2 separate regions of the Homo sapiens genome follow, and region 1 is linked to region 2. The links are contacts of gene promoters, found by promoter capture Hi-C in blood cells and fetal thymus (Javierre and others, 2016). All regions are on one chromosome and are shown on one strand. Each heading gives the region's core, a stretch centred on a gene start or on the middle of the fragment in contact. The rest is flanking DNA. Distances are from core to core; before and after follow the strand shown.

Region 1 (7,661 bases), core at 1,585-4,084, 570 kb before region 2:
GGTTACCCAGATTTCAACCTCATCGTGAACCCTTATGAGCCCATAAGGAAGGTTAAAGAGAAAATCCGGAGGACCAGGGGCTACTCTGGCCTGCAGCGTCTGTCCTTCCAGGTTCCTGGCAGTGAGAGGCAGCTTCTCAGCAGCAGGTGCTCCTTAGCCAAATATGGGATCTTCTCCCACACTCACATCTATCTGCTGGAGACCATCCCCTCCGAGATCCAGGTCTTCGTGAAGAATCCTGATGGTGGGAGCTACGCCTATGCCATCAACCCCAACAGCTTCATCCTGGGTCTGAAGCAGCAGATTGAAGACCAGCAGGGGCTTCCTAAAAAGCAGCAGCAGCTGGAATTCCAAGGCCAAGTCCTGCAGGACTGGTTGGGTCTGGGGATCTATGGCATCCAAGACAGTGACACTCTCATCCTCTCGAAGAAGAAAGGAGAGGCTCTGTTTCCAGCCAGTTAGTTTTCTCTGGGAGACTTCTCTGTACATTTCTGCCATGTACTCCAGAACTCATCCTGTCAATCACTCTGTCCCATTGTCTACTGGGAAGGTCCCAGGTCTTCACCAGTTTTACAATGAGTTATCCCAGGCCAGACGTGGTAGCTCACACCTGTAATCCCAGAACTTTGGGAGGCCGAGGTGGGAGGAGCGCTTGAGCCGAGGAGTTCAAGACCAGCCTGGGTATCACAGGGAGACCCCGTCTCTACAAAATAAAAAAATAATTCACTGGGTGTGGTTGTGCACATTTGTAGTCTCAGGCACTCAAGAAGCTGAGGCAGAAGAATCACTTGAGCCCAGGAGGCTGAAGCTGCAGTGAGCTGTGATCACACCGCTACACTCCTGCCCAGGCCACAGAGCAAGACCCTGTGTCTAAAAACTAAAACATAAAAATAAGTAAATCCGTTTAAAAAAAGGATTATCCCAGCCCTGCCAGGGGGAGGATGAGGAGGGGTGTGAGGACTAAATATACAAATAAATAGTGTGGTCACATGACGCACAGCAACAGAATTCGGACCCACAGCCTTCTGCAGCAATCAACCCCAAACCATCAGGACTTGGGCGATAACTGGCAGCATCTCTAACTCCCCACCCTACTCCCATCCTGCTTCCTATTTATGACCAACCCAAGAAACCCAAATAAGCTCCCCAGACCAATCACATGGTTAGCCCCACTTCTGGTGAGTGCACTTCCAGCTTCCCCATACCAACAGCCTCAATCACGGCATCCCTGAAGCCTTCCCATTTTCCTGCCTGTCTTTAAATCTCTGTCAAAAGCGAGAGATGGGTGGCTGGTTCCTTTGCTATAGCAAGTTGGGAATAAATCGCCTTTGTTAGTTCTCATTTGGGGGCTGTTTATTTCCACAGGGCCTAATGCTGTCCTAATGGTTATTGCTTGATCATTTGAGCTTCTCAACTCTAAGAAATGAGGACTGGGGAAACTGAGGCAAAAAGAGACAAAGAATGGGAGATTGAGGATGATGCAGTGTAAAAAAAAATCACCTCAACTCCTAAAACCCATACACAAACAGTACATAATAGTCAGGAAACTGTAGGAAAGTAATAGCATCTTTATTATCAAAGGACGTCATGTGATCAGGTTTACTCCAAGCAATAAAAAGTTTCCTTTTGCCCCCCTGTTTTGCCTAGTTTTCTGGTGGGCTACTCTCCTACCATAGCATAGAAAATGCACACTGCAATTGGTTATCAACAGCCTCTGGTCAATTTAGCAATCATAATCTGTGTATCTCCCACCTCTGTTTGCCTTCAGGGACAGAAAAAGTGCCTCCTTTCCAGGAGGTAGACAGGCTGTTCCAGTCCCCATCTTTGTGTCCTTCATAATGCCCAGCACAGCCCACATTGTAGGTGGTGGGAAAATTCTTGTTTAAAATAAAAAAAAGAATGAAAAATGCAATGTCTTAGTCCATCTGGGCTGCTAAAACAAAATACCATACACTGGATGGCTCATGAACAATAACCATTTATTTCTTACAGCTCTGGAGGCTGGGAAGTCCAAGTCAAGACACTGGCAGATTTGGTGTCTGGTGAGGACCTCTTCCTGATTCACAGATGGCAGCTTCTCACTAAGTCTTCACATGGTAGAAGAGGCAAAGGTGTCTCTAGGATCGCTTCTTTTTTTTTTTTTTTTTTTTTTTGAGATGGAGTCTCGCTCTGTCACCCAGGCTAGAGTGCATTGGCATGATCTCAGCTCCCTGCAACCTCTGCCTCCGAGGTTCAAGCGATTCTCCTGCCTCAGCCTCCCGAGTAGCTGGGACTACAGGCACCTACCACTGTGCCCAGCTAATTTTTTTTTTATTTTTAGTAGAGACGGGGTTTCACCATCTTGGCCAGGCTAGTCTCGAACTCCTGACCTTGTGATCCACCTGTCTTGGCCTCCCACAGTGCTGGGATTACAGTTGTGAGCCACCATGCCTGGCCTCTGGGGTCTCTTTTATGAAGGCATTGATCCAGTTCATGAGGGCTCAGGACCCATTATGTAATTGAAAGATTCTCCGTGGGGCCTGAAAGCTTAAGAGAATGAATGACCCCTCCCTCCCCTCCCTCCTTGGGCCCGGTCCCAAGGCGCAAGGCCACTCGCGCCAGCAGCATGTGTCAGCAAGATAGCAGAAGCGGGAAGAGAGCGGGCCAGAAGACACCTACCCCCTGAAGACCGAGAGAGACGTCATCCGGGTACAATGTAGCGGTTACAACAGACTGAGAAACTTCCTGTTTACAGGAGACTACAAAACCCCTGCCCCGTCCTCATTTGGTGCTGACGCCATTTTAAGCCTCAGCCCACCTGCACACACACTGCCTCATGTTGTCTGTTGGCCACGCTCTTGGGGTTCGAACCAACACAAGACCCTTTCACTAATTACTTCCCAGAGGTCCCACCTCCTAATACCATCACCTTGGGAGTAAGGACTTTTTGGAAATTATCAGTATCAAAATGGAGTCACTTATGTCAAACCCTAACAAATGCCTGTCACAAAAATTATCTCAAGAAGTTCCTAAAATCCGCAGTATTATAGATAAACCACTTGCATAAGAATATTTGCCTAACAGTGGGTGTCTCCACAATAAGCTAAAGCCAACTCCTGCAACAGGCTCCTGTGATCAACGGTACTTGTTTTAAAGAAGCTTATGTGGACTTTGTCTTTTCTCGTTGCCACAACCTCTTTTAATGTGCCTATAGTCCACTATAGCATGCATATCTCAAATTGCAATTCCTTGCAATTCTGGAATAAACGCTTTATTTTGGAGAGTCAGTCTCTCTGTTATTTATTTTATGGTGTCAATTTTAACATATGAATTTTGGAGGAACACATTCAGACCATATCAGTCACCTTCCTCTTCTTTGAAATAGAAAAAGCTCAAGGCCAGAGAGTTTATTTTAGTAAAGTTTTGACATACCTGTCTTCAAAGATAAAACATGAAACAGCATTCCACACACAAAAGTAAAGTGATTTTGTTCATCCTTCACTGTGAGGTATTTTAACCACAGAGATTCTAATTTTTTGGTCTTGGATGGGTCCTGGGAGTCAGTATTGCCTGGCTAATTTTTGTATTTTTAGTAGAGATGGGGTTTCACCATGTTGGTCAGGCTAGTCTCGAACTCCTGACCTCATGATCTGCCCGCCTCGGCCTCACAAAGTGTTGGGATTACAGATGTGAGCCACCGTGCCCGGACAGGATTCTGCATTTCTCTTTTTTTTTTTTCGAGACAGAGTCTCAGTCTGTTGCCCAGGCTGGAGTGCAGTGGCACGATCTTGGCTCACCTCAACCTCCACCTCCCAGGTTCAAGTGATTTTCCTGCCTCAGCCTCCTGAGTAGCTGGGACTACAGGTGCGTGCCACCATGCCCAGCTAATTTTTGTATTTTTAGTAGAGATGGGGTTTCACTATGTTGGCCAGGCTGGTCTCGAACTCCTGACCTTGTGATCTGCCTGCCTCAGCCCCCCAAAGTGTTGGGATTACAGGCGTGAGCCACCGTGCCCAGCCTGGATTCTGCATTTCTAACGAGCTCCCAGGTGTTACCAATGCTGCTGGCTCATGGACTACACTCTTAAGTAGTAAGGCCCTAGGCTATTAAAGGAAATACAGATTCCTGGATTCCACCTATCAGAGATTCTGATTCTGTTAGTATTTTCTGTGAGACCCAAAAGTCTGCAGTTTAACCAGCTCTCTAAGGTGTTTCTTAGGCCCAGCTGGACTGGGAAATTACTAGAATAAATGACATGGAATCAAAACCTGGGAACTAATCCTGGGTCTGTCATTAACTCCTTAGGAGATTCCCATCCCCTCTGGAGATCTGTCATCAAGAAATGATTGGAGAAGTTAATCTCTTAGGCCCTTCTAGCTCTTGCCTTTGAGAACCGCCCACCTCCCCATTCCCACCTGGTATCCCCAACCCAGTACAGTTCATGGCCAATGGCGGTCCAAGTCTTGGAACTACAATCCCCACAATGCCTCGCGCCTCTCCTCTCACGTGACGTCATGAAGGAGGCTTGATAACGGCGGTGTTCTCCACAATCCTTTGCGGTGGTTCAAGATGGCGGCGCCCAGTGGCACAGTGAGCGATTCGGAAAGTAGTAACAGCAGTAGCGATGCGGAGGAGCTGGAGCGGTGCCGCGAGGCGGCAATGCCGGCTTGGGGCTTGGAGCAACGCCCGCACGTGGCAGGGAAGCCAAGAGCCGGTAGGGTACTATGTTTGGGGAGACTGGCTGAGGGGCGTGGGATCTTCCCCTGGAGCCTGAGAGGATGGATGGTGAGGAGAGAGTCACTGGGACTCGGCTTCCTTCCCCGAGAGACCTCCAGGGACTGGGTGTAGTGCAGATTGAAAGCATGGGCAGGTGCAGTAGGGAGGGTATTTCATTATTCCAGTCGGGGAAGCTGAGGTACCCAAATGTCTTTTGATTCTGCCTCCTTGGGTCTATCCTCACTGCCCCACACTGGGAAGGCTGCCGTCTCTTCGAGATAACTGCAACAGCCCCCTCCCGGTATTCTCGCACCCAGCCTTTCCCCACCTCCAACACATTCTCCCACCCTGGAGGTTGTTGCCAAGAGCAGTGCCCAGCACATCACTCTGACCGTGACTCCCTAGTGCCCTGGGAATAAATACAGAGCCCCGCAACATCAAGGGGCCTAATCATGGATAGAACCCAAGGGTTCTTGAATTTGGAATGAAAACATGTTGCATCTTTGCTTTCTATTCATCTCTGACTGAATTTTAGCATCTCTTTCCGTCTTGCAAGCACTAAGCCACAGTAGTTCTGGCAATGCCGTTACTTTATCCCAACAGAAGTCACAGATTTTCATATCTCATTACAATCTTTGCAGATACAGATATCAATATATCATTTTATTGATAAAAAGATATTGGGGAAAAAAGTCATTTACACTCATCCCTGATTTAAAATGTGCCACTCTAATTTTTAGACCCATCTCTATATCTAAGATGTAAGAAGCACATACATCACAAGTTTGGTTGTTTACTATCATGATAATTAAATTTCGGTATCATTGGTTTTCTTTGTAATCCTGTATGTTGCATTTCATGCATTTAAAACATTGCTCTGAGAAGAGAACCGGGCTTCACCAGGCTGTTAGAGAAGGCTATGGCAAAGCAAGGTTAAGAACCGCTGGATTTGTTTAAAAGGACTTACAAGCCCTTTGGTGATCCATTGCCTTCCTCTCCCTTCCTTCCCTCCTGCCATACTGCACTTCCTGTAGGTAGCTTCCAGACCATAGTCTGCCCCTCTCACCCCCTAGTACCATAACCACAGTTTTCTCTGCAAGTTCTATTTACAGATCTGCCTTTCCATCTCATTAGCGGTGGGAACTTGAGCAAAGTACTTAAATCTCACTGTACCTAAATTTCCTCATCTGTACAGTGCGGGTAGTGATAGTACCCACCCCATAAGGTTGAGAAGTAACTGAGATAATGCAATCTACAGTGCTTGGCACATCTTAAAGGCCCAATACATGGTGGCAAATATGTGGTTGGTCTTTCCACATGGACTGCTTTCCTCCTCCTGCCTAATTCTCGCTCTTTTTTTTTTCAAAACTAGGACTCAGTCTGTTACCGAGGCTGACACAATCATGGCTCACTGCAACCTCGACCTCCCCCTACTCAGATGATCCTCCCACCTCAGCCTCCCAAGTAGCTGAGACTACAGATGTATAGTCCCAGCTACTTTTTGTATTTTTTGTAGAGATGGGGTTTTGCCATGTTGCCCAGGCTGGTCTCGAACTCCTGGGCTCAAGTGATCCTCCCTTCTCAACCTTCAAAGTGCTGAGATTACAGGTGTGAGCCACTGTGCTCGGCTTCTAGTTTTTTTTGTTTGTTTGTTTGTTTTTTGGGGTTTTTTTTTTTTTTTTGCATTTTTTTTTTTTGAGATGGAGTTTCACTCTTGTTGCCCAGGCTGCAGTGCAATGGCACGATCTCAGCTCACTGCAACCTCTGCCTCCTGGGTTCAAGTGATTCTCCTGCCTCAGCCTCCCTAGTAGCTGGGATTACAGGCGCCTGCCACCACGCCCAGCTAATTTTTTGTATTTTTAGTACAGACAGGGTTTCACCGTGTTGGCCAGGCTGGTCTCAAACTCCAGACCTCAGGCAATCCACCTGCCTCGGCCTTCCAAAGTGCTGGGATTACAGGTGTGAGCCACCGCGCCTGGTCTCTTTTTTTCTTTTTGAGACGCAGTCTCGCTCTGTTACCAAGGCTGGAGTGCAATGGCGCGATCTTGGCTCCCTGCAACCTCCGCCTCCCAAGCTCAAGCAATTCTCCTGCCTCAGCCTCCTAAGTAGCTGGGATTACAGGTGCCCACCACCAGGCCCAGCTAATTTTTTTTTATATTTTTATTAGAGACAGGGTTTCACCGTGTTGGCCAGGCTGGTCTCGAACTTATGACCTCAGGTGATCCGCCCACCTTGGCCTCCCAAAGTGCTGAGATTACAGGCATGAGCCACCACACCCAGCCTAGATTACATTCTTGAGTGCGTCTAGTAATAGCCACCAGGAGTTGAGAATTTTCTTTTTGCCCCTGTTCTAAACACTTTGTATTTGTTGTCTGTTTTCATCTTCCCAGCAATGCCACAAGAGGGTGTATTAGCCCCATTTTACAGAAAACTGATTCTCATAATGGTAAAATAACTTGGCCAAGGTTGTCCAATTTGTGAGTGGCAGAACCAGGCGTAAACCCAGGCCTACCTGACTCCCAAGTCCATGCTCTTCATTGCTGCTGTGCCACTCTGCCATGGACAAGTGTCTATTGTGGTCAAAACTCCCACCCTTTGGTCCATGACTGTGGAAATATAGGTCACTATTTTATTTATGTAACCTCTAGAGACAGCTCTTAAATCCAGTGATGAACTCGTCACTCAAACCACTTTAATTTTAGGGTAGCATCTACTTTGACTTATTTTTCTGACAATTAATTCAAACCAAGACACTATGGCAGGATCTGGGGATACAGAGGTAAAAAGAGGCAGACCACGTATTCAAGTAGCTTACAAATCCAGGAAGGGGATGGGTATGGAAACAGCGTCCACAACACTGACTCCAGAAGGTTGGTAATCGTATTCCCATTTTATAGATGAGAAAAACAAAGGCTCAGGGAGAGAAAGTGACTTGCCCGGCATCACACAGCTTGGTGGCAGAGCCA
Region 2 (6,832 bases), core at 1,770-4,269:
GATAAGGAAAAACAGACATGCTGTGGAAGGTGGGTGAGCAGGAGAGGGGCAGAGACTCAACACATCCCTTAAATAGATGTATAAACGCATGTATAAATCAGCCCTTTTGGATATCACGAGAGCCACAGGTAGAGAACCTAAGTATAGCCAGGCACAGTGGCTCACGCCTGTAATCAGCACCTTTGGGAGGCTGAGGTGGGCAGATCACGAGGTCAGGAGATCGAGACCATCTTGGCTACGGTGAAACCTCATCTCTACTAAAAATACAAAAAATTAGCCAGGCGTGGTAGTGGGCACTTGTAGACCCAGCTACTTGGGAGGCTGAGGCAGGAGAATGGCATGAACCCAGGAGGCGGAACTTGCAGTGAGCCAAGATCACGCCACTGCACTCCAGCCTCAGCGACAGAGCGAGACTCTTGTCTCAATTAAAAAAAAAAAAAAAGAACCTAAGTATAAAAGAATGAAGACTTGTGGCTCACGCCTATAATCCCAGCACTTTGGGAGGCCGAGGCGGGTGGACTGTGAGGTCATGAGTTCGAGACCAGCCTGGCCAACATGGTGAAACCCCGTCTCTATTAAAAATACAAAAATTAGCTGGGCGTGGTGGCGGGCGCCTGTAGTCCCAGCTACTCGGGAGGCTGAGGCAAGAGAATCACTTGAAACCGGAAGGTGGAGGTTGCAGTGAGCTGAGATTGCACCACTGTACTCCAGCCTGGGTGGAAGAGTGAAACTCCGTCTCAAAAAAAAAAAAAAAAAAAAAGGAATGGACTTTTTTGGCCAGTGCAGTGACTCATACCTGTAATCCCAGCACTTTGGGAGGCGAAGATGGGCGGATCACTTGAGGCCAGGGGTTCGAGACCAGCCTGGTCAACATGGTGAAACCCTGTCTCTACTAAAAATGCAAAAACTAGCTGAGTGTGGTGGCGGGTGCCTGTAATCCCAGCTACTCCGGAGGCTGAGGCACAAAAATCACTTGAACCTGGAGGGTGGAGGTTGCAGTGAGCCAAGATCATGCCACTGCACTCCAGCCTGGGTGATGGGGCAGGACTCCACCTCAAAAAAAAAAAAAAACTTTCTTGAGGAAGTGGGAGGCTGAGGCAGGAGGATTGCTTGAGACCAGGAGTTTGAGACCATATGGGGCAACATGGCAAGACCCCGTTTCTACAAAAATTTTAAGTATTAGCCAGGTGTGGTGGTGCACACCTATAGTCCCAGCTATTTGGGAGGCTGAGGCAGGAGGATCTCTTGAGTCTAGAAGTTTGCGACCAGCCTGGGCAACATAGTGAGACCCCGTCCCAAAGGAAAAAGAAAATTGCAAAGTAGAGAAGACATTTGAAAGAATCAAACACGGCCAGGTGCTGTGGCTCATGCCTGTAATCCCAGTACTTTAGGAGGCTGAGATGGGTGGATCACCTTTGCTCAGGAGTCCAGACAAGCCTGGGGAACATGGCAAAATCCCGTCTCTATCAAAAATACAAAAAATTAGCCAGGCCAAGTGGCACGCGCCTGTGGTCCTGTACTTGGGAGGCTGAGATGGGAGGCTCTCTTGAGTCTGGGAGGTGGACATTACAATGAGCTGAGATCATGCCACTGCACTCTAACCTGGGTGATAGAGTGAGACTCCATCTCAAAAACAAATAAAATAAAAATTCAAGGCAGGAATAAAACAGTAACTACATAATGAGCTCACATTTTAATAAAAGAGATATAACAAATGAACAAAAGTCCATTAAAATGTTAGGGAAAAAACCCAATAGGATGAGTTACTAACTAGAAGGGGAGAAGGGATTTGGAGTGGTTAGGAGAGCCCTTTCTGAGAAGATAAGCTGAGACCTGTGCCAAGAGGGAGGCAGCCATGCAAATACTGAGAGGAAGGAAAAAAACGAAGGGCCAGTGCAGAGATCTAGAGAGGAAAAGAACTTGTCTTGCTGGAGAAGCAGTCAAGGTAGCCAAGGAGAGTACTGAGAAGAGTACGTTGGAGTGAGTAGGTAGGGACTCTATGGAGTAGGGCCTTAAAGGCGATGATTAGGCCAGGCGCGGTGGCTCACACCTGTAATCCCAGCACTTTGGGAGGCCGAGGCGGGTGGATCACGGTCAGGAGTTCAAGACCAACCTGGCCAAGATGGTGAAACCACGTCTCTACTAAAAATACAAAAAAAATAAGCCGGGCCTGGTGGCAGTCGCCTGTAATCCCAGCTACTCGGGAGGCTGAGGCAGAGAATTGCTTGAACACGGGAGGCGGAGGTTGCAGTGAGCCGAGATCGAGCCACTGCACTCCAGCCTAGGCAACACAGCGAGACTCCGTCTCAAAAAAAAAAAAACAAAACAAACAAACAAAAAAAAAAACAAAGGCAGTGATTAGCAGTTCGGGTTTTGTTTCCACTTACACTAGCGAGAGCATCAGTAATGAACAAGGGGAAGAGTGAAGCCACTGACTCGCGAGGTGACTGTGGGCAAGTTCCTGAATCTTGCTAACACTCTTTAACCCCCTGGAAAACTGTTCGCTAATCGTCACATTAAACGGCTGCGAACGGGCCACGGTCAAGGCTTCGGGGCTGCAGCCGCGAGTTTACCTGTCCTCCAGGACCGATTCCATGGGCTCCACCCCGTCTGTGTCCACGGCGCGTAGCCGGTCGGCGAAGGCGATAGCTTTCTCCAGTCGCGCCACTGCCTCGCGGCTGCCGAAGTCCACAAGCGCTAGACGCTCCAGGTGCTCGATCACCGCAGCCGTGATCCGGCCACTGCCCTGGAGGAGGGATGAGGCGGGGAGTGTGGGTCACCGGCGCTCCGAAGTGCCTCCCGGCTTGCTCCGCCACCCGCCTAGATGGCCCTGGCCTTTACCTGAGGATCCGCCTTGGAGGTGAAGCCCTGGCGCCCGCCCAGAGGGGCCCGAAGGCCCAGCCACACCAACCGCGACCACATTTCTTCCTTCCTTGGCCCCCGCAGTGCGCCCGCGCGTAACGCCGAGCGACGCGCCTGAGAGTGATGACATCAGAGTGCGCCGTCGTCGCCGCCGCCACCACTGTCGCCATGAACAGTGTGGGGGAGGCATGCACGGACATGAAGCGCGAGTACGACCAGTGCTTCAATCGCTGGTTCGCCGAGAAATTTCTCAAGGGGGACAGCTCCGGGGACCCGTGCACCGACCTCTTCAAGCGCTACCAGCAGTGTGTTCAGGTGAGCCCTCCCGCCTCTGTTCCCAGGCCCTGCATTCTCGGCGCTGTGTCCCACCACACTCATCGTATTTTACGGGGATTGGGACTGGACTGGAAGGGTGGAGAAAAGTCGCAGTGAGGCCAGTGGCAGGAGCTCGCTCCCCTACCATCACCACCGAGGCCACTTGGGTGTCTCTCCGAATGACAAATATTGGGGCAGTGCTTTTCAAGAAGCACAGTCACATCCTTTGGTTCATTTGGTGTTCACCCTAAACTCGCAAGGTGGGCATAGTTACTCATATTTTATACATAAAAAACTAACACCCAGAAATAGGAAGTGATTAATCCGAGTTCACTAGCATCAGGTTTCCTTGGTTCTTTCGCAGGTGGTGCACTTTTCCACTATTACTGCTGGGGTCTGGGCGGGATTATACTTCAGAATTCAGACTGGAGGGTCACATTTTTTTGTTGTTATAAACCCTTCGTTAGCCTGTTTCTCTCTCTTGACCAGTCCCCGCAACTGCAGCCAGGAAATGTTTATTCTGGCCCAATGGATGTGGAACTGCTTTGAATTGTTAAGAACAGCACCGGGCAAAGCACTTCCAATAAGTTAACCCAACACATCCTCACAGCAATTCCCCGAGGTAGTTGCTGTCTTCATCCCATTTACAGTTAGTCACATAGCCAGTAAGTCCTGGAACCCAGATTTGAACCTAAGTCTTTCACTAACACAAAGTGATGATTATTTTTCAAATTTCACTTAATTTTAACGGTTCCCTCACAACTCCTTTTCCAGTCTCCCTCAGGTCTTACACTTGATTTATTCATTATGGTACTTCTGGTTTTTATTTATTTTTGAGGCAGAGTCTCACTCTGTCTCCCAGCCTGGAGTGCAATGGCACAATCTCAGCTCACTGCAACCTCCGCCTCCCAGGTTCAAGCTATTCTCATGCCTCAGCCACCCGAGTAGCTGGGCTTACAGGCATGCGCCACCATGCCCAGCTAATTTTTGTATTTTTAGTATAAACAGGGTCTCGCCATGTTGGCCAGGTTGGTCTCTAACTTCTGGCCTCAAGTGATCCACCTGCCTTGGTCTCCCAAAATGCTGCGATTATAGGCGTGAGCCACCACACCTGACCGGTACTTGTTTTTTAAAAAGTATGTGGTTTGAATCATGGTTATAAGTCTTTATAATCAGCTTGATTTTACTTTTGTACTGTCATATTTTATTTACAAAGCTTGCAACTTAAGCTTCATGTAGGTCTTTATAATGTGTTTTCTCCTCCTACCAGAAAGCAATAAAGGAGAAAGAGATTCCTATTGAAGGACTGGAGTTCATGGGCCATGGCAAAGAAAAGCCTGAAAATTCTTCTTGACCTTGACAGTCACCTTGAAGGATTTCGCAAGTCCAGAAATTGAGGACTCTGGATTTTTGTCAACTAACTCTGTGAACATAGCCATCAGATTTGATGAGGAACTTAGGAGAGAGGAGTTTTATTTCCTCCTTCGATGTTTTCCTCTCAGTTGTAAAAGATGAACTCTTTGAGATGATTTCTCACCTGCTGTGGTATCTTGCAGGAACTGTGTGCTAAAATTGAACAATTTTTTTGAGATTATGGTTGCAATACTTGGCGTGGAATCAGCTTTACATAAATATACCTTGTATGCAAACGATGATAAACTAGTCAGGATGAGCAGAGCTGCCTGACCTCTTGATTTCTGCTGCAAAAGACATATACACTGTACTGGGGTCACTATTTATGAAAGCAATTGGTTAGGACCTCTTTTTTTCCTCTCAGGGAACTAATGCTCTGAAAAGGGATCTGGGCACAACAGTTTCAGTGAGTGCTTTTGAGCACACTTTTATTTTTATATAGTAACTAATGGTTAAGATTGATGGTGGCCTGGATTAGCAAAGAGGAAGACAGCTTTTAACACAGTTCCCTGCCTTCACAAGAGGTGTCAGATTAAGATGTGAAAGCTGCAAGAATGTTGCAGTGAACACCATTTCAGAGCTCTCAGTGTGCAGTTCAGGAATTAAGATACTTGGAATAGCTGTGGAGGAAGAACCTAAATTGCAAAGATCTGCTATTGCCAGCTCTCAACCCAAGTCAGTGAATTGTCAACCTGCATATCCTAAAAATGTCAAAATGCTGCATCTGGTTAAATGTCGGGGTAGGGGGGAAGCTGAAGGTGCTCGCTTCATTTGCCTTGTTTACTCATCCTGCCCTGTAATGTCTGTAATCCTGAAGATGGAATAAATTGTAACATTTAGTTTCTATCATTATTTGCCTCTGGAACTCAGTGCATTTTATGGAACTATTACCCTGTTACCCTACAAACCTCATATATACAGTGGGGAGAGTTTTGTGTTTTGTAACTTAAAGGTGAAGAAAAAGTGACTTGTCTTAAGCTAGGTGGTACAGTATGGCAATCAGAAACCTCACATTTTTTTTTTTTGAGACAGTCTGGTTCTGTCACCCAGGCTGGAGTGCAGTGGCGCAATCTTGTCTTACTGCAAACTCCACCTCCTGGGTTCCAATGATTCTCCTGCCTCAGTCTCCCAAGTAGCTGGGATTACAGGCATGCATCACCATGCCCAGCTAGTTTTTGTATTTTTAGTAGAGATGGGGTTTCACCATGTTGGCTGGTCTTGAACTCTTGACCTCCCGAAGTGCTGGGATTACAGGCATGAGCCACCGCACCCAGCCAAAACCTCACTGATTTCTAAAATTTCCACAATAGGCTATACAAATACACTACGGTACCAAAAAAGGATCAGGAGAGCACTTACTTACCTCAGAATGTCACGTAATCCCCACAATTAATTGAGTAATTTGGTTTTATTAGATACCCAAAGTAGTATGAAACTTGAATTACAGGCCGGGTATGGTGGCTCATGCCTGTAGTCTTAACACTTTGGGAAGCTGGGATGGGCGGATCACTTGAGCTCAGGAATTTGAGACCAGCCTGGGCAACATAGCGAAACCCTGTCTCTACAAAAAAATTAGCTGGGTATGGTGGTGTGTGCCTGTAGTCCCAGCTACTCTAAAGGCTGAGGTGGGAGAATTACCTGAGCCTGAGAGGTGGAGACTGCAGTGAGCTGTGATTGTACCACTGCACTCCAGGCTGGGTGACACAGCAAGACCCTGTCTGAAAAATAAACCAAGAAACTTGATTTATAGAAGGCCCTAATTCTATTGTCTTTTCTCCACTTTACCAATTGCTACATCATATTTAATGTGACTTGTCCTTAATGTCATTTCAAAACATTCTTCATTTATATTTTATGACTGGCTAGGGTCCATTATCCAAGGATTATAAAAGATGTTTGGAACCCAGCCAAGGGAGGCCAGGCAGCAAGCTGAAGTATAATGCATCTGTCCTAAACTCAGACTGGCCACAACCAAAACAGCTCTATAGGGACTCAGAAGTGCAGGCTGTAATATTACAAAATGGCAAAGACAATGAGATTCTCTATTCCGTTAATTATTACAAAATGGCAAAGACAATGAGATTCTCTATTCCGTACTGTATATGCCTTACTTTTGCGTTACCAGTTTAATGTAATATAATATGAAATACCTTGTTGCCTCTTGAACCTTACCACGAAAGTGTTCCTTTGAGCCTTAAGAATAAACCAGCTGGCTGGGCGCGGTGGCTCACGCCAGTAATCC

What was found. Contacts are between HindIII fragments. The CHiCAGO score rates a contact against its expected background, and 5 or more counts as called.
Region 1: a fragment that was not itself captured here is called in contact with the fragment with the promoter of TRIAP1 in region 2 in 1 of 17 cell types (M0 macrophages); the score reaches 5.2 in M0 macrophages.

What each region holds. Positions count from the first base shown.
Region 1 is chr12:121,013,362-121,021,022 of GRCh38, reverse strand. It overlaps OASL (2'-5'-oligoadenylate synthetase like), which reads left to right. Exons shown (of 6, transcript NM_003733.4): 6 at 1-1,912. The coding sequence ends at 462. C12orf43 (chromosome 12 open reading frame 43) reads left to right here and starts at 4,536. Exons shown (of 6, transcript NM_022895.3): 1 at 4,536-4,693. The coding sequence starts at 4,549. RefSeq lists a silencer at 4,440-4,633 and enhancers at 4,361-4,870, 4,842-5,357. The HindIII fragment of the contact is 612 bases long and covers 2,529-3,140 here.
Region 2 is chr12:120,442,571-120,449,402 of GRCh38, reverse strand. It overlaps TRIAP1 (TP53 regulated inhibitor of apoptosis 1), which reads left to right and starts at 3,019. Exons shown (of 2, transcript NM_016399.3): 1 at 3,019-3,177; 2 at 4,448-5,439. The coding sequence starts at 3,031. The coding sequence ends at 4,531. It overlaps GATC (glutamyl-tRNA amidotransferase subunit C), which reads right to left and starts at 2,959. Exons shown (of 4, transcript NM_176818.3): 1 at 2,842-2,959; 2 at 2,574-2,746. The coding sequence starts at 2,922. RefSeq lists enhancers at 2,144-2,989, 2,823-3,117, 2,715-3,264, 2,479-3,678, 2,990-3,837. The HindIII fragment of the contact is 13,544 bases long and covers 1-4,395 here.